Linked DNA regions of Homo sapiens: all the other regions are linked to region 2. Evidence: promoter capture Hi-C in 16 types of primary human blood cells and fetal thymus (Javierre and others, 2016). All regions are on one chromosome and are shown on one strand. The core of a region is centred on a gene start or on the middle of the fragment in contact, and the rest is flanking DNA. Distances in the headings are between cores, read along the strand shown. Region 1 overlaps ANTXR1 (ANTXR cell adhesion molecule 1). Region 2 holds the start of GKN1 (gastrokine 1). Region 3 has its middle 72 kb from the start of GFPT1. Region 4 has its middle 43 kb from the start of ARHGAP25. Region 5 has its middle 17 kb from the start of PROKR1. Region 6 has its middle 91 kb from the start of GFPT1. Region 7 holds the start of PROKR1 (prokineticin receptor 1).

Region 1 (3,252 bases), core at 223-2,722, 270 kb before region 2:
AATAGGAAATAGTGCTGTGATTGATTAGCAATGTCTGCCATGGCCACAAAAATTGGTATTGATAAAATAAATGCATCCCAGGCCCTTATATCTCTGTTCTAAGTAAAGTGAGTGAATGAAGCTGGCTTGATGTATTTTTGAAGGATCTTTGGAGACCATAGCCCAAGCCACTAAATGTATATTTATTTTATATTCTGCCTTGTTCCAGAAAAGATCTGAGAATTTGGGTGGCTTGGGACAGGAATTTTAGGATTTGTGGAAAGCTAGAGAGAGAGATAATTTTGAATAGGCTGATGCAGGAGGTCCAAGACAATGATCTCTGTTTTTATCCCTGGGTGATGAAGCCCAGTGTTTAGCAAGTGATTATAGGGCTTATTGATTAAACAGATCCAGAAAGACCTGGATAAATGGGGTGAGTCCTAGGCATGGTGGAAATTTCAGGCAGAGCATTTCTGTGTTGCAGATCTGATGTATTTCCCCTTGGTTAACAGCTGAGGTTCTATGTCGAAAAGCCAAAGAGAAGTATATTTGTATACACACACATGCCTTATGGGGGTTAATCAAAGATCCTTATTATGTCAGGACCATTGTCTCTCAGCTCTGCCCAGAAGTCTGTGGTGCATGGCTTTACCAAGAAAAAAAACAAAAAACAAACAAACAAAAAAAACTAGTGATATTGTGTGATAGGTCCTAATGATGGTATTTTGGGAAGATCAACTTATGTTTATCTCTGGAAAACAGGATAAACTTCATACCTCAAGTGATTTAAACTGAAGCCAAACCTTGATTTTTAACATGATTCATTAACAGGTTGCTCTTCGACAATGCCATTGTCTGTTGATTTAGGGTCCATGTCTGGCCAAAGCCAGCCACCTCTAGCTGCTGATGGCCTGTGGGTTTTAGAAACTGGCTGATGCTCCCATGAATACGCCCCTGTCTATTGCACACAACTGATTTCACTTACACATCAACATAGCAACATACCTTTTCCATCAGTAAACACCTGCTCCCCTTCTCACTTGGAAACTGGAAGAATTTGCAAGGAAAAGATGCCATACATTTTTTATGTACCTGCAAATCCCAGAAGAACATCCTTCTGCATACCCGTCTGATGTTGAGTTTCTTACCACACCAGGGACCCCAGCATTTCCAAAGTTGTAGGCAAAGTTTTCCTCTTTCTTGGGTGGTGCACAGGGGTGAAGGTCCTTAGGCTCCTAGGCCAAGGGTCCAAAGTCCAGGGATGGAGGTGGAGTAGAGGCAGGAAGGCAGCATTTTAGAAACCCAGCAATGTATTTCTTATCCAACTCTGCATTTCACCTTCAGATAAATGATTTTCTTACTGGTCTCCATGAGACATAATCCTGTTGAGAGCATCTTGCAGTTTCACTGTCTCTGGAACCTTCTAGAGGTGATAGATGGCTGGCTATAAATCTGACTGTAGTTGCCTCATCATTTGTTTTCTGGCAATTTAAAATATCTGTTTCTTTCAGCTGATCATGATTGTTGGTATACTGGCATTGCCAACCAATTTTTAGAATGTGTGAAGGTCAGTGGGCTTTATCACCACTCCTCTTCTCTAACTGGAAAGACTTGTTCTAACATCTCCTGAAGTTTCTGAGAGAGCCCAGAGCAGGAACTTTGGGCTCTAGACAGAAGGCCTTGGAGGAGGGCGGGAGGGAGGAGGTGCCCTGTTGGGAGGTGGAGCCTGGGGAGGAGGGGGAAGGGTGGAAGGTGGGGACGGGATGGGAGGGGTAGGGGCGCTGGGGGGCGGGGGAGGGCAGTGGGGCGCAGGAGGTGGGGGAGTGTAGATGGGGGCAGGAGGCGGCGAGGAGGTGTGGTAGGCGTTGTTGAGTGGGTACTTGGCTGGCTGGTTGTTCTTGACCCTGGTGAAGTTGATGCAGCGCCCCTAGAAAAGAATTGGAGAGAAGGAAACGTGAGCGGACGGCCTCACATCAGGGCCTGTGGTGCTGTGGTGGGCGGCTTGCAAGCAATATGTGGAAAGCTGGCCCCTGTTGGTGACAACTCTCTAGTGGCACATAGTAGAACTTGAGGACAAGTGAGCTCCCCACTTCCTTTTCCTGGACTGTGTTGCAAAACTGTTAAAATTCATCTTTTCCTGGAGTCTAACTCTCTCAAGTGGGAGAAAGGGAATGAGACTGACCTTAACTGGGTGCTGTGTACAGAGGTCATTAAACTGAATCTCCTCAACAGCCCTGCTAACCGGGTATTATTAGCTGTTCCACTGCACAGATGAGGAAGCAGAGGTTCAGAAAAGCGGAGTTACTTTTTCAAGGCCACACAACTAGGAAGAGATGGGGTTGGTGATTCTAACCCAAAATAGACTCCAGAATTATTCTTCCTGCTGCTACTTTGCCTTCTGGAAGGGATCCTCATATTTCATAAACAAAAGTAATTTATTTTGATTAGTTCAGTTACATGCCTGGAAATGGCAGAAGGTTAACACCACGAGCTTCTCCTATATTGTAATTCAAGGATGTAGCTAGATTCTGTGATTGGAGTTGTCATGGAGGCCCTGATGCATTTACCTCGTCTGTGCCCCCTCAAACACTTGTTCCCGGTAATGAATGAAGGAGGCAGCTATCTCTACTGATGTGATCAATACAGCTTCCTCATCCACGCCTTGCCTTCTCCAAAGTGCTAGTAAATAATAAACAGTTTGTCCTGCCCTTGTTCTGGCTGTGGGAATCCCTCTTCTACACGCGGCTGCACCTGTGCAGGTAGCCTTAGTTGTTGTCACAGGAACTGACAACCTGTGTACCTTAAGAAATACAACCTGGGGACATTCTATTGCCAAGCAGGCATCTGCCCTGAATTCTGCTTTTCTCCTACCCTTCTTGGGTACTCAACTGAACAATGCAGAGAAGACCCTGGAACCCCTTAAAGCAGCCTCCTGAAAGTCAGCGTCCAAAGCCAGCCTTAAGTAGCCCTGTCTCCCCTATAGTATCTGCTCTGCTCTCCAGAGTCACAGGCATGCTTTCTCTGTCCCCCAGTAGATACCCACTAGTCTCATCTGGTACTCAGGAACTTCTGTGCAACACTCAGCTCTGCAACGGAGGGGAGACAGGGGTTCTCCTGCTCACCATGTTCCATGCTGGCGTGAGCTCTCTTCGCTTGGCCACTTGCCTGGGTGGGTACCCACCCCTCTGAGGGCTCCTGGCCTCCCTCACTTCCCATGCCTGTGGGGTATCTTATTGTTCTCTCTCTGGCATGTCTGGATGCCTACAGAATTGC
Region 2 (2,926 bases), core at 175-2,674:
GTCACTAGCAGTGTCCCAGGATACTTGGTTTAATTATTTATCACAGGGTCCCTGACATTGGTTTTCAGAGCACAGAGCTTTATGCAGGGTGCCTCATTCTGGGTACCTAGTCTCATTTCCTTTGCCTGGGACAAAATAGTTTTGAGAACTGCTCTAGAGATTCAAGGTAACTTTTGAAAAAAAATTAAATTTTTCTCCCAATAGCTTAAAAAGGAGTTAAAAATTAGTCTCCTAAAAAGTCAGAGGTAGAAGAAATTTTAGAGAACACCTAGTACAATGCAATCATTTTACAGATAAGGTAACTGAGCTTCAGGGGTTAAGTGAGTTGGCCAAACTTATACCTCTTGTTCACAGCAGAACTAGGAGAGAAATCAAATCTAACCTGTGTCTGGAGCTCCCTCTGACCCTTTTAAACTTTGCTGCTATTAAGAGGACCTAGTTCTAGGTAGTCATTTTACATTTGCAGCCCCATTATAAAGTAGAGTCTGCCGTAACGTTTTCCAGTGTGTAGTATGTTGAAACATGAAAATAGTCATCTGATTCTAGCCCCTTTGCATCGTGTTGTGAGAAACCCGGCACTACTAGTTACTTTGGCAGGGTTTCTCGGTCCACCTCCTCCTAGACTCTCAGGCTTCTGTCTGGAACCACAGGAGAGATGCTGTGGTAGCTTCATGTTTCAGATGCTTTCTTAAATAAATGGCCATGCTAGAGCCCAAGGCAAATCTTTCTTTCTTGGAGACCCATTTTACTGTAACAAATGTGACAAGAAGTCTATCTCAGCCACTTATTTTGATAATAAGCTTTTCATCTTTCCTGAACATGCTCAGGAATTTTGGTAAATAAAAGGAGGAATTCAAGAATGAGGGATGATCGGCACTTTCTAGGGCTTAGGAACTGCTTACCCTGCATGGAGACCGGAATCAGGTGATGCGGAAAGTCATTTTGTTAAAAATAGGTCAGTGTGAGGTGCTCAGACAGCTGTCTAATCTCAGCACAATTATCCTTCTCTATAGAGATGCTTATAAATGCCATGATTATATAAATAGAAAAAAGATTTTTTTTCATTATTTCTTCTTCTAAAAAAAAGGGATACATGTGCAGAACGTGCAGGTTTGTTACATAGGTATATGTGTGCCATGGTGGTTTGCTGCCCCTATTGACCTGTCCTCTAAGTTCCCTCCCCTCACTCTCCACCCCCCAACAGGACCTAGTGTGTGTTGTTCCCCTCTCTGTGTCCATGTGTTTGAAGAGAGAATTTTTTTAAAACAAATTTTCCATGATGGGGCCATAAGAAGCAGACCTCCTAAATCTCAGAATATTGACAGTCTCCAATCATTTGGTGGTAAATTCAAAAGGAAAAATCTACTCACTGTGAACTTCATCTTGTCTTCACGAAAGCAGTGGACAGAGGAGTAGGCAAGCATGGACCTGAATGAGAAGCCTTCTCATATTTGTACTTAACCAGGTTGACTCAAACTAGGTGTTATCAGGTGGGGTCAAAGACTTACCTTCCTCAATTTCTCCTATCTGTGCCATGAGCCAGTGTACCAGGAAACCTTTCAGAATATCTGCATGCTTAGCAAGGAACTTTCACATGGAGTTGACCTGACTCATCACTTGTTGAAGCTGAAGGTATCACAACAAACTCAATATGATTTATGATAACTTCTCACCCAGTCAAAGCTGTGGGCGTGAGTATTTTACACGCTAACATTGCTCAGATTCAGAAAAAGAATAATCCCTAAAATCAAACAAAATCACAGCTGAAAAGCCACGTGTATACTAGGCCTTCCAGATAGCAGCTCCTATAGGAATGTAGGAATGGTTTCCACTTCTTAACTTTTATCTGAGCCCATGGCAATGGTTTTGCTTAGACTAAACATGTTTTGTGAGCAACTCCCACCAAACCTACCCCTTTTCTGCAATGTTGAGCTCACTTAATGATAGCACCATATATCTGGTACAGCCCTTTCTTCTCAGTCTGACATCTACTTAGTTACTGTCATTTTATCTCTGAAATGCCTCTCAACTCTGACCTTGCCCACAGCTCCCCTCACCTGGACTTTCACAACAGTCATGCAATTGATCACTCTGGTCACCAGTTTCTTATATTCCAATGCATTTTCTTCATTAACCCTGAGGTTGTCTTTCTGAAGTGCATAGATAGACATGACTCTATCACGCTTGGAAATTTCGCTGGCAGCCTACAGAAAATTCAAAGTCATTGGAATGGCATCCAGGGTCCTATGTAATAAGATTTCCAAAGGCTTCCCGTCTGCCACTTTATGCTATGTACCTACATTCTAGCTCCACCAGCGTTCCCACCATTCCTGGAAAAGTCAAGATGTGTATGTCTCCATGCCTTTGTACATGCTGTTGTTTTATCTTGGAGGGCCACCCGCTAGCCTCTCGCTTGGTAGACTCCTGTTCATTGTTCAAGGCTCAGCTCAAATATCACTGCCTCCATCACATCTCCCCCATCTGATAGATAGAACTTTCCTAGTGTTTGTTTTTTCCTTCTGGGAACTATAAAAGCAATATCTTTTTATTTGCTTCTAGATAATTTAGTTTTCAGAAGTTACATTAAAATAATAAAAAATATTTTCATCAAAAGCAGAGAGTAGAAACTATCAATTGGGCAGACAAGTAAAAGCTCAAAACAGGTTTGGAGGTGAGTTGGTTTTAATTTTTTTCCTGCTTTTTCCTATACAGTGAAGCTAGTAAATTAAATTTGCCAAGGAGGAAAACTGTATTTCATTAACTACCAATCTATAAATTTTCCCTTTGGAAACTTCGTGCCCACAATTTTCCTCCTGTGCATGGATTGAAACCATAAGATGGGATCACATGGTTATAAAGCTTGATTCGCTATCAACATCTCTTCAAAACTGTTGGTAGGAGTGGATTAGAACAGCTGCAGTATTAC
Region 3 (3,167 bases), core at 495-2,994, 340 kb before region 2:
AAAATTGGTATTTTTTATTGTTGTAATTTTATATATCTTTTTAAACAAATATTTTGGATCCATGGTTGGTTGAGTCCATGGATGTAGAACCCATGGGTACAAAGGGCTGACTGTATCAGAAGCAGTAAGAGGAATCAAATGTATGACAAAGGAATAAGACAATAAAGAAGGACAAGGCAGATTTCAGGAAGGACTGAAAATGAAATATAACAATTGAAATTAGAATGGATAAACAGATTAGGCCCAGCTGAAGAGAGAATTAGTGAACAAAAAGATAGGTCTGAAGAAATAATCCAGAATGCAGCATTTACTATAGAGAGTGATAGAAAATGAGAAAAGTCAAAGCTTCTTGACTTTTTAGAGAATTTTCTAGACCAGATTAAAGGCAAATCCTAGAATTTAGAGTGCTTCACACATCTTAAGCTGATAAAAGGAAATTGCATTCTTAAACACATTGTTTTGAAACTGAACACAAAAGATGAAGAGATCTAAAAAGCCAGAGAGATAAGACTACCCACAAAAAGTCAATAATTAGACTGACAGCTTATTTCCCAACTGCACCAGTGGAAACAAGGACAATGGAACTATTTCAAAGTGCTGAAAAAATAATTCATGAAACTGAATTTGAAGACTGATGGGAAAAATGTGCTATCTGATGAATAAAAACTGGGACTCTCACTAAAATCTTCCAAAGATAAATGCTAAGGTGATGGAAAATGATCCCACAAAGGCTTAAGATACAACATAATGAATGGTGGCTGGGTGTGGTGGCACATACCTGTAGTCCCAGTTACTCAGGAGGCTGAGGCAGCAGGATCACTTAAGCCAAGGAGTTCAAGGCTGTAGTGGACTATGATCATGCCTGTGAATAGCCACTGCACTCCAGCCTGAGCAACATAGCAAGATCCCATCTCTTTAAAAAATAAAAAAGAATGGTGAGCGAAACAAAACAAAACACTTTTAAGTGAGGGTAAATCTAAAGCACTAACGGTCTAAAACAGTAATATTTTAGGAGCTATAAAACAATCCATAATGAACTAAAATGCTAGACAATAATATTGTAACTTAGGAGTAGATGAGCAGGGTTAAAACATAAGGCTCTTTTTATGATGTGGCAAGAGGGTAAAGATAACTTCTGACTTTGTGAAGTTAAATATGGATATTTAAACTTTTATGAAAACTAAGATTAGAGAATATAGTTCCCAAAGTAACAGAAGAAAAAAAATGGAATTTAGGAAATCCAAGTACATTGGTAATAATCACAACAAGTATAGAAGACATCTAAAACACAGGGACACAGAAAAGTTGAATGTGAAAGGCTGGAAAAAGGTACACCAGGCAAATCCCAACCCAAGGAAAGATGGCAAGCTACATGAATATGACAAGATAGACTGTAAGTGAAAATGACTTATTTGAAAATAGTGCGTCTTCCATGGAAAAGTTTGGTAGCTTCTCAAAAAGTTAAACATGGAATTACCATACGAACCAGCAGTTCCACTCCTAGGTATATACCCAATAGAACTGAAAACAGAAACTCAGGTACTTGTACACCAATGTTTATATCAGGATTACTTATAACAGCCAAAAGGCGGAAACAACCCAAGTGTCCATCAACGAATGAATAAAGGAAATGTGATATATACACACAATGGAATACTACTGAGTCATAAAGAGGAATGAAGTCCTGATACACTCCAAATCATAGCTGAACCTTGAAAACATAAGCAAAATAAGCCAGACATTAACGAACAAATATTATATGATTCCATTTATATAAAATATCTACAATAGGCAAATTCATAGAGACAGAAAGTAAATTAGAGATTACCAGAGGCTTGAAAGAGGAAAAAATGGGGAGTTATTGCTTAATAGATACAGAGTTTCCATTTTGGGTGATGAAAACTTTTGAAGATGGATAGTGGTGATCATTGCACAACATTGTGAATGTAATTAGTGCCACTGGATTGTACACTGAAGAATGGTTAAAATGGCAAATTTTATGTTATATGTATTTTACCACAATAAAAACAGTTTAAGACTGGATGTAGTGGCTCGTGCCTGTAATCCAAGCACTTTGGGATGCTGAGGCTGGAGGATCACTTGAGCTCAGGAGTTTATACCAGCCTGGGCCACATAGTGAGTTCCTGTGTCTACAAAACAAACAAAAAACCAAAACCCTTAACTGGGTGTGGTGGTGCATCTGTGGTCCCAGCTACTCAGGAGGCTGAGGTAGAAGGATCACTTGTGCCAGGAGCTTGAGTCTACAGTGAGCTATGATTGTACCACTGCACTCCAGCCTGGGTAACAGAGCAAGACCCTGTCCCAAAAAAAGTTTAAAAAAGCATTACTAGAGACAAAAATTGTTACCATCAAATGATAAAAGTTTCAATTCAACAGGTATTGCATTTAACACTTTTGCCAAATGGTGAATAAATCTTTGTCTCTCATTATGGTTTTAATTTATATTTCCTTTTTTTCTTTTTTTGGAGATGGAGTCTTGCTCTGTCACCCAGGCTGGAGTGCAGTGGCGCCATCTCGGCTCACTGCAACCTCTGCCTCCCGGGTTCAAGCGATTCTCTTGCCTCAGCCTCCCGAGTAGCTGAGACTACAGGTGAGCGCCACCACGCCCAGCTGATAGTTTGTATTTTTAGTAGAGACGGGGTTTCACCATTTTAGCAAGGATGGTCTCGATCTCCTGACCTCATGATCCGCCCACCTCAGCCTCCCAAAGTGCTGGGATTACAGGCGTGAGCCACTGTGCCTGGCCTATATTTCCTTGATTATTAATGATTTGAGCATCTTTTCATATGTGTATTGACTGCTTTTTTTGGTGATGAATCTGATCAAATCTTTTTAAAATCAGTTTTTAAAAATTGGATGATTTATTGTTTACTTTTTAACTTGGAGGGGTTTTTTACATATTCTGAATTCTAGTTCTTTGTTGTGTATTGCAAATATGTTCTCCCCTTTGTGACCTGTCTTTTCATTCTCTTTTTCGTATTGTATAGAAATTCTTAACTTTAATGTAGTCAAATTGATTACTTATTTTCCCTGATTTGTGCTTTTATGTAACTTGTTCAAGGAATCCTTCCTAGGTCTTAAACATATCCTCCTGTATTGTTTTCTAAAACCCTTAAAGCTTTTCCTTTCATCCTTGGATTTTTAGT
Region 4 (3,339 bases), core at 629-3,128, 280 kb after region 2:
CCTTCCTTCTCACCACCTCCCTTCCCATACCAGCATCTCTTCTCCTCTTCTACTTCAGATTCCTGCTGCCCTCCCACATGTACTTTTGAATAAGGCTTTTGAATGGCATGAGTTCTTTATACCTCAGTGTGCATTTTTGCCAGAGTCATCTCCCTCAGGGATACTTGGATTCTAAAGCTTTATTTCCAACTGGGTACTGAAAAGTCTTCTTTTAAATGAGTATCCAATATCAGCTGTCCTGGAGATACATGTAAACTTGATGCAAAACTTCCAATTCCAAAGCCTTGAAATCCAAAGCCCTCCTTATGATTTTTGTGCATTTCCAGGAGTTATTCTCCTGGTATTCCCCGCCAATGGCTCCTGAATCTGCATGTGTTGTCTCTGTCGTGCATTCACCTGGACTTAGAAGTCAGCATCATTTTTTTTTAGTTTAACAGGATTTGCTGAAGATGTGGAGTTACATTGAACAGTGCACGTCTCTCTACCATCTCACATGTTCCTTTCTACCTTTTTCCTTCTTTCAGCAGGAGTTGGGAAGGCTGCTGGAAGACAGCCAACTTTAGTAGCTGAGTAAAGACTAGAGTTCCAGCCATCTTCAAAGCACCACCAGGAGAGGAGTTGAGTGAGGAGAGGTACCAGTGGCAATGGCATGGCGGTGGTTCTTGGAAAAGGACTGTACCTCTGAAGCACTGTCAGCAGCAAAAAGGGAAGTGTTACTGCAGGAGGAAGGAGCAGCTACAATAGTCAATTCACCCAGCTCCCTAAGATGAGAGATTTGGAAGGATGAGATGAAGTCAGCCCACACTGGCACTGGTCACACATCTGTTTATTGGAAGAAGTGCACCTTCTCTCTTAGTGCAGGATTTTGGCATAGGTGCAAAGATAGCTTCACTGTTTTTATTTTTGAAGAACATGAATATTATAATTGCCTCTGCTCTGTGGCATAAACTCTAAATAATGCCTCCTGACTTAAAGAAAAACAGACAACTTAATAGTCATTAAAAACAATTTAAGATAATTCAACTACATTCCATCTCTCTTTTTTTTTTTTTTTTGAGACGGAGTCTTGCACTGTTGCCCAGGCTGGAGTGCAGTGGTGCAATCTCAGCTCACTGCAAGCTCCGCCTCCCAGGTTCACACCATTCTTCTTCCTCAGCCTCCCGAGTAGCTGGGACTACAGGCACCCACCACCATACCCAGCTAATCTTTTGTATTTTTAGTAGAGACGGGGTTTCACCATGTTAGCCAGGATGGTCTCGATCTCTTGACCTCATGATCCACCCATCTCAGCCTCCCAAAGTGCTAGGATTACAGGCATGAGCCACCATGCCCGGCCATATTCCATTTCTTAAGGATTCACCTACTCAACCCATAGTCAAATGTCTTGTCCTCTCTTCTAGTTTATCCCTTCTCAATATCTTCCATGTAGATGGAAGTGACTTGAGACTATTCTCTTTTGCATTCTCAACTCCTAAGTTAATACTCCCTGAAATCTATCCTACTGGGTTCTTCTGGACTCCATCTCATTCCTAGATTTATTGTAATTTTTCTTTCATTTCCAGTATAAATTCTCTAGCTAACACTTCTCCTCTTGTCCAATAAACTAGACCTCATAATAATAAAAATGACCACCAAGGAGAGTAGAATAGAGGAGAGAGAAGGAAGGTAGGAAGGATAGGATAGTGTAAGGGAAGTACCAAGTTAACAATGCTAGAATTTCCAGAATGTTCTTTATGGGCAAAGGGAGGGTCAGAGATTATGAGTGCTTATGCATTATTTGATTTTGTCTGTATTGTTCAAGGAAAATGAAATTTCTTTGAAAAATTCAAAGTATTTTTTGATAGGGAGGAAACACTTCTCCATCACCTTTGTGTCTAGGTAAAGAGCTTCATTGAAAAAATAAAAATATAACAGAAACTTATAGTGGGATTTTCTGAGGTTGGCACTAACAGATGTCTGTGGCCTCTGTCCACTAGAGCTATTTGAGCAGACCCTTACTGCCAGAAGAGACCACTGTAATGAAAACCTTAGTTAGTCCTCTTGGAATTATGTGGACTAAAGTGAAATTATTGAGCAAGGGGTCTAGGGACTTTGAGTGGACTGATGACTCCAAGGAGGGTCTGGCCTCCTGTCATTTGCTTTCTGCCTCTCAAATTTTGATAGCATATTTATACAACTGTCCAGAGCTACCATTCCCTCCTGGATAGGAATTTTGCCTGCCAGGTACCAGTGAAAAATGAGGACGAGACCTCTGGCCCCAGCTATTGGCAGAGAGTCAGGCTTATTGGTGTACTCCTGCTGGCTGGAGCATCACTGAGAGCTCACAGGCCACGTGCTGAGAGAACATCACCCTCAGCAGCACATTTGTCAGAAAGCTGTTCTCACCTGGACACCTGAATCCATTACAGGCTTTCCCCAAACCCAGCAACACTGGAGACCTGGCTTCTCTCTACAAATACTCTACCCTTCGAAATCTCAGTCTAGTGAACAAACCTTTTTCTCCATGCAGAGTCCAGGCCAGGTGTGTTGGGAACATAAGCCCCTGTCAAACACCTCATTGTACCTCCATCTGCAGAAGAGAAGCATGTTTTCCTGACCTTCCGCTGGTAATCACCATGTTTTGGGATGCATGGTTTTTCATTTTAGACATTGATGTCAATTTCAAACAAGTTATATTCCTACCACACTCCTAACAAACCATATTTTAAATTAACATGCAATATTCAGATTTTAAAGCAAAAGTGCAAGCTAAAATATTAACCTGTTAATTGGTTAATAGTTATAAGGCCTAATGACACCTTTGAATCAAAAGATATACTGTATTCTGCTTCATTTTGCAACAATACTAGGAGGTAAGAAACACTGACTATTTCCTGGGTGTCAGGTACACAGTACCTTATTTCATCTAATCCATGGTCAGCTCCTCTTTGGCTCTCGGTACTGAGGATGAGTTCTGGTCCCAGAGACCAGAGACAGCAGAGAAGACACAAAGTAACCACAGGCCTTTTTCCATTTCAGTTGGTAATACACCTCTTCGTTATGAGAGTTAATGCAAATGAGCACAATCTAAATGAAGCCCCGCGGAATTACTCAGAAAGGGGAAGGCAATGCAAGATTTCCAAAGGAGTCTTGCAGAGAGAAACAGGAGAGCCCTGGGTGGTAATAGCTATCTCATTTCCTGCTAGCACTTTCTCGCCACATCACACCACTTCTCTGTTTTTCTGCTTTATCAATCAGTAAAATGAGAGCCTCAAGACAATAAGGCCCATGGCCCAGAGATCATGATTAACTGCAAGATTCAAAATCAGCTGCAAGAGAACGAAGCTGTCACATGGGTTT
Region 5 (3,056 bases), core at 490-2,989, 350 kb after region 2:
AGATTTCAGGTTCTTCTCAGAGACCTGTTTGATGTGGACCACCTGTTGCTTGCCTGCACTATTGGCAAGCATTAGGTACTTGTCAACGTCATCCTTTGGGCTGTTGGTACAATGTCAATCTATTCTGTCAGCTTCAGGATCTCCTCTTGCAGGGCAGCAATAGCAGCTTTTGTGCACTGAGCACCTAGTGTTCCATCGATGAGACCTGGGTGGATGTTGCCATCAGTGTTGGTGGACACTGCACTAGAGATCTGAGCAAGAGTGCTTACTTCCAAATGCTCCATCTATTCTGCAGTTGCCTCCTCTCCTGATTGACATGTAGCAGCAGCACAAGCTATTTCCACCACAGCTGAGCTGGTAGGAGCATTAGTCACAGATGAAGAAAACCTAGGTTGGCTTGACTGCTTGATAGCTGCCATATCCTGGCCGTATACCCTACTGATTTTGAGACTTTCCTTTGAGGCCTCTGGCTTGCCCTGCCTGCCATAAAAATTTGTCTTGTCTTCATCTTGAATGGTACTTGGATTTGTTGCAGGAACTGATTCAGAGCTGTGGGGTGGGAGGTGGGGCTACTCTCAGTCTCAGCACATGTGTTCTGGCTTTCCAGATCTATTTCAGGTTCTGGATCTGCCTGAATTTTCTGCACATCACATGGAGACATGGATGACTTCTTGGGCTGCTGCCAGAAGAGATGCTTCAAGCCTTGGCCAATCACATTAAAGTACTCCAGAGCACTATGGGTCATTCTAGACAATTTGTTTTCTGACTCTGTCTGCTTCCTGGCCTTTGCATCTGCAAAGTAGAAAATGTGGCATTTTCTACTTTGAAAACTTTTCATTTTCTTGATGATATTTTCCCCTTATCTCTCCTCCTCTAATTAAGGAAAGACTGCAACCAAACTATCCCTCCCTGATACAGGACACTGTACCAATAGAGCAGTCCCTCCTCCATCCTACCTCAATCACACCCTGTGGTTCTTTATAACACAGTATATCTTTGATGCTAACTGTCACCAGGAAACCTTTCTCCTTAACCCAATGAAACAATAATCGTCTTTCACTAATGTCTTAGCCGTGTGATTGTGTGACTAGATTATACTTGGAGTCAGTAACAGAAAACAAACCACATACACTAATTATAAAATCTTTGGATCTGTTTTTAATTCCATGCAACTGATGTGGTAAAGTGACAGAAGATGAGCTAAACACAAATCTGGATTTTGTTCTGTCACTATCTGGGTGGCCTTAAAAATGCTACTTGGCCTCTCTGGGTCTCAATTTTCTCACTCATTCAGAAAAATATCATTTGATTACCCTCTATGTGCCAGGTCCTGTGTTAATCACAGGTAAAGAAGACATGATCTAGACTCTGTTGGTAGGGAAGATAAATAAAAAGAAAGAAAAGAACAGAAGGGAGGGAGGGAGGGAGGGAAGGAAGGAAAGAAGGAAGGAAGGAAAGAAGGAAGGAAGGGAGGGAGGGAAGGAGGGAGGAAGGGAGGGAGGAAGGAAGGAAAGGTGAGAGGGAGGGAGACAAGGAGAAAGGGAAGGAAGGAGCAAGTAAATATATAATAATAAATTTTAACATAAAATTTGTGCTTTTCAAACTTTTACTTTAGCCAAAATACTATTTGTTCAAGACAAATCTAACGTAGCAGCACTGACTTGCAAAATACGGCATGGCCCCACCATGTTGATCTCTACCACTCTCTCCTATGGCACTCTGCCCTTGTTCATCCCACCTCTGCCACTGTGGTCTTGTCATTCCTGAATCATGCTAACTCACTCCCAACTCAGGGTCTTGCCACCTGCTGCTTCCCCTGCTTGGAACATTTCCCCCATATCTTCAGATGACCTGACCTTCATTTCATTCATATCTTTGCTTAAATATCACCTCAGAGAGGACACCTCTGATAACCCTATCTAAAATCATTTTGTGTTCCCCAGTGCCTTCCTACCTTGTTCTGCTTTATTTTTTTATCATTTATTTCCACTTGAAATTATATGTTTTTTCATTTTTATTTTCTCTCTCATCAATGTAAATTCCATGACAAGGTCTCTGCTTTCCTAATTTCTCTTTGTAACTTCTTTTATCAGGCCAGACTCATAGTAGGAGCTCCATTAATATTTGTCAAATGAACATTAGGAGAGAGATGACTAAAGGGGGAATGGTTCTGTTGAAACATTGAGATAGGAAGCTAAGTCCTGTGCAATCTATTTCCTCCCCATGTAGCCCCTGAGGACACTTTCAGGTCTAACACTGCAGGACACAAATTATTTCATCAGGAAAGAGGTCTTAAACATTAAACTTTATTTTTTATTCATTTTTAAATTCCAAAACATGTACTCTGTTCTAGAATAAAAGCTATGCTATGTGCTTGGTCTCAAGGAGACAATAACATTATCTATTCTGTTTGGAGTTTATTGTCTAGCTATAAAAAATTAATCTAAATTAATGGGATGATATGATAGAGAAGCTGGGGCACACAGAAGACAGAGTAACTGCCTGCAGGACACCTTACATTTCTCCTCCATAAAAGGGATGTTTACTTCTCAGCTACAAAGTTTACTATAAGAATAAAATGAGAAGATGGATATGAAAGTGTTTGAAATACTGCAGAACATCCTCAAAAATCCAGTGTGAGTATGATTATTCAAGATTAAATAGAACATCAGGAAAAATGGCAGAGTAAGAAACTCAGGAGTTTTGCCCCCTATGAAAGCAACAAAAAATAAACTGTCAAAATCTTTCAACATTAACTTTTTTGGAACTCTGGAAATTAGCCAGAGATTGAGTAATATAAGAACTTATTCAAAAAAAACTAGGTAAGGGCCAGGCGTGGTGGCTCACACCTGTAATCCCAGCACTTTGGGAGGCCAAGGCAGGTGGATCACAAGGTCAAGAGATCGAGACCATCCTGGCTAACATGGTGAAACCCCGTCTCTACTAAAAATACAAAAACTAACCAGGTGTGGTGGCATGTGGCATAGTCCCAGCTACTCAGAAGGCTGAGGCAGGAGAATCGCTTGAACCCAGGAGGCGGAGGTTGTAGTGAGCTG
Region 6 (3,003 bases), core at 168-2,667, 320 kb before region 2:
CCCAGGAGGTGCTGCCTGTGGGGCCGTGCTCAGTCTGGGGAAAGGGAGTCTAGATCTTTATTTCTAGGCCAGCAACCCCCACCCTCACGCTACATTACTGCCTTTTGGAAAGGGCATTTGTTTTTTTGCTTTGAAGGAAGGAGAAGGAAAATGTGTGTGGGATCAGCAGGGAGGGGTTGGGCATTGCTCAGGAGCCTCCTGACACAGGCACGGCCGGAGCGCTGAACAAGGGAGTTCTGGGTGGGGCATTCAAGGGCTGCTGCAGACAGAGGAGCCGGCATCTGGAGAGGACCACACCATGTGTTCTGTGCTTGGCGCCGCAGTTCCACACTCCCAGGACAAGGCCTAAAATGTCTGGGTGCTCGGTTTGCCATTGGGAACAGGAGGCGATGAGGTCCTTCTGGTGGAACTCGTGTATCTTGTGCGCGCTGGGGATCCTGGGGCTGCCTTGGTTGGGTGGGTGCGAGGGCAGCACCTCTCATGCTCTGCTGCAACCAGCATTTAGCAACAGCGTTTCTGGAGCCCTGGCGGTGCTCTGGCCTTCGGGGTAGTGGACGCTGACACCACAAAATCAGATGTGGCAGGTCCCTGCCCTGGAGCAACCCTTGCAGTCTAAAGGGAGAAAGACAGGGTGACATCGGAGGTTTGTGTCCCCTGCTGTGGGTGCTCAGAGGAGGGGGTACCAGGCCGGAGATGTAATGTGTATGGGGGTGCAGAATGGGTTTGGCCTGGCTGCAGTGTGAGAGTTTCAAGCAGGCATGAAACAGTCAGGGTTGTATTTTAGAAAGATCACTGTGGCTGGTGTGGAAAGAGGGTTGGGGGGGTACCAGGAGAGTGGTGGCTGTGCTGGGTGGAGGCTCTGCGGCCATCCAGGAGAGTAATTCCAGAGGGCAGGCAGCCCGGCAGGAGACACCAGGGGAAAGCAGCTAGAGTTCCTGCTGTTTTGTGTGTAGTGCATGTGCATGTGGTTTTGATTGTGTGCATGCATGTGTATGTGTGTGTTTGTGCTCATGTGTGTGCCTGTGTGCATGCATGTGTGTGTGTCCACACATGAGTGTAGGTGTGTGCATGTGTGTGAGCGTGTGTGTGGGTTGTGGGAGAGTATAAGAATGAACATTTACTGAACTTGGTATTGTAGTCTTCATTTTACATTTACATTACATAAACTGAAGCTCAGATATTTTATTTTTTTGAGATGGAGTCTTACTCTGTTGCTCAGGCTAGAGTGCAGTGGCACAGCCTCTGCTCATTGTAACCTCCACCTCCTGGCTAATTTTTGTATTTTTAGTAGAGACAGGGTTTCACCATGTTGGCCAGGCTGGTCTTGAATGCCTGACCTCAGGTGATCCACTTGCCTTGGCCTCCTAAAGTGCTGGGATTACAGGCGTGAGCCACCGCACCTGACCTCAGATATGTTAAATACCTTCCTTTTTTTATTCAATGAATATTTGAGCATTGTCCATTTGGAGGGCATATTTTACATATTTTGCCACATTTAATCCTTACACTTATAAAGGAGTTACTATCATCTCCCCATTTTGTAGATGAGGAAACTGACACTTGGACAGATACAAATCCTGACACGATTGAACAGGGTGATGTGTTTCTACATGGCAAATGTCATCTGAAACATTTTCAAATGATGGGCTTCTCATTTTGAATATTCAACATAGTCTTTTACTTTTTTACACAAAAAGGGCAATCTAGGTGCCTTTCATGATCCTCCAAGGATAAAGGAAAGAAGGAATGAGGGGATAGGTATAGATTTCATAAAACAATAAGAAGGCACAAAGTCAAGTCTACAAGCACAGCATCCTTAAAGCAGCATCCTGTGACAAAGTCCAAAGCAATAAATTGGGGTTATGGAGGATTCCACAAGGCCCCGATTCATGTAATTCTTTCTTTCTTTCTTTTTTTTGAGATGGAGTTTTGCTCTTGTTGCCCAGGCTGGAGTGCAATGGTGTGATCTCGGCTCACCACAACCTCTGCCTGCTGGTTTCAAGCAATTCTCCTGCCTCAGCCTCCCGAGTAGCTGGGATTAACAGGCATGCACCACCACGCCCGGCTAATTTTGTATTTTTAGTAGAGATGGGGTTTCTTCATGTTGGTCAGGCTAGTCTCAAACCCCTGACCTCAGGTGATCCGCCCGCCTCTGCGTACCAAAGTGTTGGGATTACAGGCGTGAGCCACTGCGCCCAGCACTTCTTTCTGTTTTAATATTAAGCCTCTAACTTTGGCATGTGCTAACACAATGTGAAAAGGAAAGGAGGAGTGGTTGTGAAATGTACTGTAAACTAGCACTTCTGGATTTTAACATGTGCACAAGCCCCCTGGGTGTGGTATTAGAATGCAGATTCTGATCCAGTAGGTCTGGGTAGGGCCTGAGAGTCCCCATTTCTAACAAGCTCCCAGGAGACGTCTCTACTGCAAGGCTGTCAATGACGTGAAGAAGTCACAGGTGCCTGCCGTTAGTGGAGAGTGGGAATGTGGGCGAGAGTCTGATGGGAGGAGATGAGTTTTATTTTGGATGTGTTGCATTTGAGGCACTCCGATTTTTCCAGAAGAGTCAGTATGACAAAAACTAAGCGAGAAGAGTCAGTGGGAAGAGTGGGGCGTGCTGCTTCCTCCTGTTTGCCTCGAGGTCCGCCACCCCCAGCTCTTCTCACTGTGCCAGGAGGAGTACCTTTAGGACTGTCAGCAATGGCTCTCTCACCTTCTGGACTGTGGTTGGGTTCAAGCCAATGGGGAGCCCTGCAGGAGGGTGCTGGAAGGAGATGAGTAGATTGGGGTGTGTGTTTCCCTGACCCTTACTCTCCAATGCAGGCCCCAGCTTGTTGGGGTGGGGGTTCTTCTCAACATAGCTCACTCTCTCTGGTGCTGGTAGCTTTTCTCTGTTACTGGCCCTGGTATACTGCACCATTCCTTGTTAGTGAGGGGACTGTTTTTGGAGGTATGGGCTTGTTTGGGCAAAGCAACCAGCTTGTGTGTGCCATCTGTGTTCTG
Region 7 (2,919 bases), core at 151-2,650, 330 kb after region 2:
TGGAGGAGAGTGTTACACCCTAGAACTGCAAGGAGTTACTACTGCGCTCTCAGGCCTCCTCTGTCAGCTGCAAGGAAGGGGAGCGAAATCCTGATACAGGGACTCCACCACACCACATAATGGGGCTGGGGTGAGGGGTCTAGGGGGGTGTCAGCTGCCCTGGTGGGGACAGGGAGGCAGCCAGAGTCCCCCTGTCCCCTGCTCTCTCCCTGCAGTCCCTCCCAAACCCTGAAGACATCAGACCAGGGAGTGGGACGTAGAAGGAGGGCTGAGGTCTGGAGAGCACCCTAAAACAAATGTCAGGAGAACAGAGGGAAGAATGCAAGCCAGAGTTTTCCTGGGAAAGGAAGATGAGGAAGATGCCCAGGACCCCACCTCCCCACCCCCAGGAAAGCCTGCTCTCCATATTCCTCCGAGGCAAAACATCTGGAGCCTGTCTTCTTGGGGCCAAGTTTAAAGTCCCTCTGCGCCCCAGTGAGGCTCAGCCCCATTGCTGCCTCTCTGTCCTAACTCCTTACCCTGATTTTTTCCTTCCTCCGAGCTCTCAATTCTGTCTGGCTCAGCCCTTGCCCTCTGCCCACTCAGGGAGGAGAGGCAGAACTCAGCTGAAAAGAAGGAGGGGGGCAGGCTTGGAACCCAGGCGGGACAAGCCCCACTCCTTGCAGGTCCCGTGGGTCGCAGAGGCATGCCACTCCTGGAGGGGTACCCCTACAAGCATGCTACCTGAAGGGTCAAAGTAGTGTTTAAAAGCAAAGAATACAGAAGCTTCGGGGGTGGAGAGGAGGGCGTCACGAGATTAAGGATGATTGTCCAGAGGTCTTTTCTCCTTTATTCTCACCGTTCAGAGGGGAACCCCAATCCTACCCCCACCTGGTGACCTCTCGATCGCTAGAAGCCTCTCTCACAAACCCCTGCTGGCAAGTCCCCCGCCTGCTCCCAACTTTCTCCCTGGAGCCTGGGCAGCTTCCCCTAAGGACAGAGGAGGGGAAGCCTGGCTCTCCTGAAGAAACTCACAGGAGTGAATCCCTGGCAAAGTCCCCTCTTCACTCAGAAGCCGCCGCACCCCACGGCCGCAGCCAGTGCAGCGCGGGGTCCCTGGAGCATCCTCCCCGGGAGGGCGCGCTCTGTACCTGCGGCATCGCGGAGCCCGGCAGGCAAGGTCCGGGTTTCTTATTCCGGGGCCGGATCAGGAGACGCTTCTTCCAGAAGCCGGCAGGCGAAGGGCAGGTCCCCGCTCCCTTCCTCCTCTGCTCGGGGCTCTTTCCCGGCTCTGGCGGGGGAGTTACCTTCGCGCCGCCGCTGCAGATCCCCCGACCCGGCCCGCGCCGGACTCCCTGTCCCCGCCTCCGGTGGCCGTGAGGCGCCGAGGTGCGGGCTCTTGGCGAGGCGTGTCGCCAGCTGGGCTGCAGAGGCCGGGATCGCCCTGGGCGGGAGCGTCCGGATCGCCCTGGGCGGGAGCGTCTGGAGCTCCCAGGCGGCAGCTCGCGACGAGGACGCGCGGGAGGGAGCCGGGCCAGGCGGGCTGCGCGTTGCCCGGCTCAGGCTTCGGAACGGCCGCCTGGGGCAGGAACGGGGTCGCTGGGGCTCCGGGCAGGGCTCTGCGTCAATCCCGCGCCGGGGGCACCCATGCAGGGCGGCTGTGCCCGCCTCGGGGCACGGGGCTCCTCGGCGGCTCACCTTGGCAGCCCAGCGCCGTCGGAGTGGACGGACACGGCCCCGCTCAGCCGCGAGCTTGCAAAGGACCGAGGAGCCTCCCCCGCTGCTCACACACCTCCTCAGGGGACACTCAGGGGCCGGCCCCAACCTGGTCCCCTGGGCCAGCCTGAACGGACACCAGGGCCATCTTTGTTGCCAGCTGCCCTACCTCTCCGTAAAAGAGGCTCAGAGAAGTGCTTTCTGGAGAGCAAACAAGGGGGCGGGGTAGCACACTGGAGAGAGGAAGGACCCCCGCCCAGGGATGTCTGCTTAGAAGGCTGGGACGGACAGCGCTGACTTACAGAGCACAGTCTACCTTTACAAGCCCATAGATTCCTCAAAACGTGAGGCATATAGTCCCGCAATCCCACTCCAAGGTATGTAACCCCAAACTATTGAAAGCAGGGACACACATACACTGATGTTCATGGCAGCACTATTCACAGTAGCCAAAAGACAGAAACAACCCAAATGTCCATCAGCTAAGTGGATTAACAAAATACATATAGTATATACATGCAATAGAATATTATCCAGCTGTAAAAAGAAATGATAACAAGTGTTGGTGAGAATGTGGAGAAACTGGAACCCTGTGCACTGTCGGTAGGAAAGTAAAATGGTGAAGCCACTGTAGAAAACAGTATAGGGTTTCCTCAAAAAGTTAAAAAATACAATTACCATATGATCGAGTGTTTCCACTTCCGGGTGTCTAACCCAAAAAATTAAAAGCAGGGTGATACGGTTTGGCTGTGTCCCCACCCAAATCTCAACTTGAATTGTATCTCCCAGAATTCCCACGTATTGTGGGAGGGACCCAGGGGAAGGTAATTGAATCATGGGAGCCTGTTTTTCCCATGCTATTCTCGTGATAGTGAATAAGCCTGACGAGATCCTGTGGGTTTATCAGGGGTTTCCACTTTTGCTTCTCCCTCAGTTTCCTCTTGATGCTACCACGTAAGGAATGCCTTTCACCTCCTGCCTTGATTCTGAGGCCTCCCCAGTCATGTGGAACTGTAAGTCCAATTAAACCTCCTTTTGTTCCCAGTTTCCGGTATGTCTTTATCAGCAGTGTGCAAGTGAACTAATACACAGGGTCTCAAAGGCATGTTTGTACATCCATGTTCATAGCAGCATTATTCACCATAGCGAAAACATGGAAACAATCCAAATGTCCATCAATGATGAAGGGACAAACAAAATGCTCCACATACACACATACACTCA

The links. Contacts are between HindIII fragments. The CHiCAGO score rates a contact against its expected background, and 5 or more counts as called.
Region 1: a fragment that was not itself captured here is called in contact with the fragment with the promoter of GKN1 in region 2 in 1 of 17 cell types (M1 macrophages); the score reaches 6.2 in M1 macrophages.
Region 3: a fragment that was not itself captured here is called in contact with the fragment with the promoter of GKN1 in region 2 in 4 of 17 cell types (M1 macrophages, M0 macrophages, endothelial precursors and 1 more); the score reaches 8.6 in M1 macrophages.
Region 4: a fragment that was not itself captured here is called in contact with the fragment with the promoter of GKN1 in region 2 in 5 of 17 cell types (fetal thymus, total CD4 T cells, naive CD4 T cells and 2 more); the score reaches 5.9 in fetal thymus.
Region 5: a contact is called between a fragment that was not itself captured here and the fragment with the promoter of GKN1 in region 2, in 5 of 17 cell types (activated CD4 T cells, naive CD4 T cells, non-activated CD4 T cells and 2 more). The highest score is 8.1, in activated CD4 T cells.
Region 6: a fragment that was not itself captured here is called in contact with the fragment with the promoter of GKN1 in region 2 in 5 of 17 cell types (M1 macrophages, megakaryocytes, M2 macrophages and 2 more); the score reaches 10.4 in M1 macrophages.
Region 7: a contact is called between the fragment with the promoter of PROKR1 here and the fragment with the promoter of GKN1 in region 2, in 10 of 17 cell types (non-activated CD4 T cells, activated CD4 T cells, total B cells and 7 more). The highest score is 11.4, in non-activated CD4 T cells.

Annotation. Positions count from the first base shown.
Region 1 is chr2:69,243,879-69,247,130 of GRCh38, reverse strand. It overlaps ANTXR1 (ANTXR cell adhesion molecule 1), which reads right to left. Exons shown (of 18, transcript NM_032208.3): 18 at 1-1,906. The coding sequence ends at 1,646. Among named protein-coding and RNA genes, the nearest start is that of GFPT1, 140 kb to the left of the region's middle. The HindIII fragment of the contact is 5,707 bases long and covers 1-3,252 here.
Region 2 is chr2:68,973,134-68,976,059 of GRCh38, reverse strand. GKN1 (gastrokine 1) reads right to left here and starts at 1,424. Exons shown (of 6, transcript NM_019617.4): 1 at 1,371-1,424. The coding sequence starts at 1,382. The HindIII fragment of the contact is 2,059 bases long and covers 803-2,861 here.
Region 3 is chr2:69,314,091-69,317,257 of GRCh38, reverse strand. No RefSeq gene overlaps it. Among named protein-coding and RNA genes, the nearest start is that of GFPT1, 72 kb to the left of the region's middle. The HindIII fragment of the contact is 2,794 bases long and covers 348-3,141 here.
Region 4 is chr2:68,690,094-68,693,432 of GRCh38, reverse strand. No RefSeq gene overlaps it. Among named protein-coding and RNA genes, the nearest start is that of ARHGAP25, 43 kb to the left of the region's middle. The HindIII fragment of the contact is 3,397 bases long and covers 180-3,339 here.
Region 5 is chr2:68,624,799-68,627,854 of GRCh38, reverse strand. It overlaps the pseudogene LOC100379290. Among named protein-coding and RNA genes, the nearest start is that of PROKR1, 17 kb to the left of the region's middle. The HindIII fragment of the contact is 3,535 bases long and covers 1-3,056 here.
Region 6 is chr2:69,294,643-69,297,645 of GRCh38, reverse strand. No RefSeq gene overlaps it. Among named protein-coding and RNA genes, the nearest start is that of GFPT1, 91 kb to the left of the region's middle. The HindIII fragment of the contact is 8,338 bases long and covers 1-3,003 here.
Region 7 is chr2:68,642,060-68,644,978 of GRCh38, reverse strand. It overlaps PROKR1 (prokineticin receptor 1), which reads right to left and starts at 1,400. Exons shown (of 3, transcript NM_138964.4): 1 at 1,131-1,400. The HindIII fragment of the contact is 2,701 bases long and covers 768-2,919 here.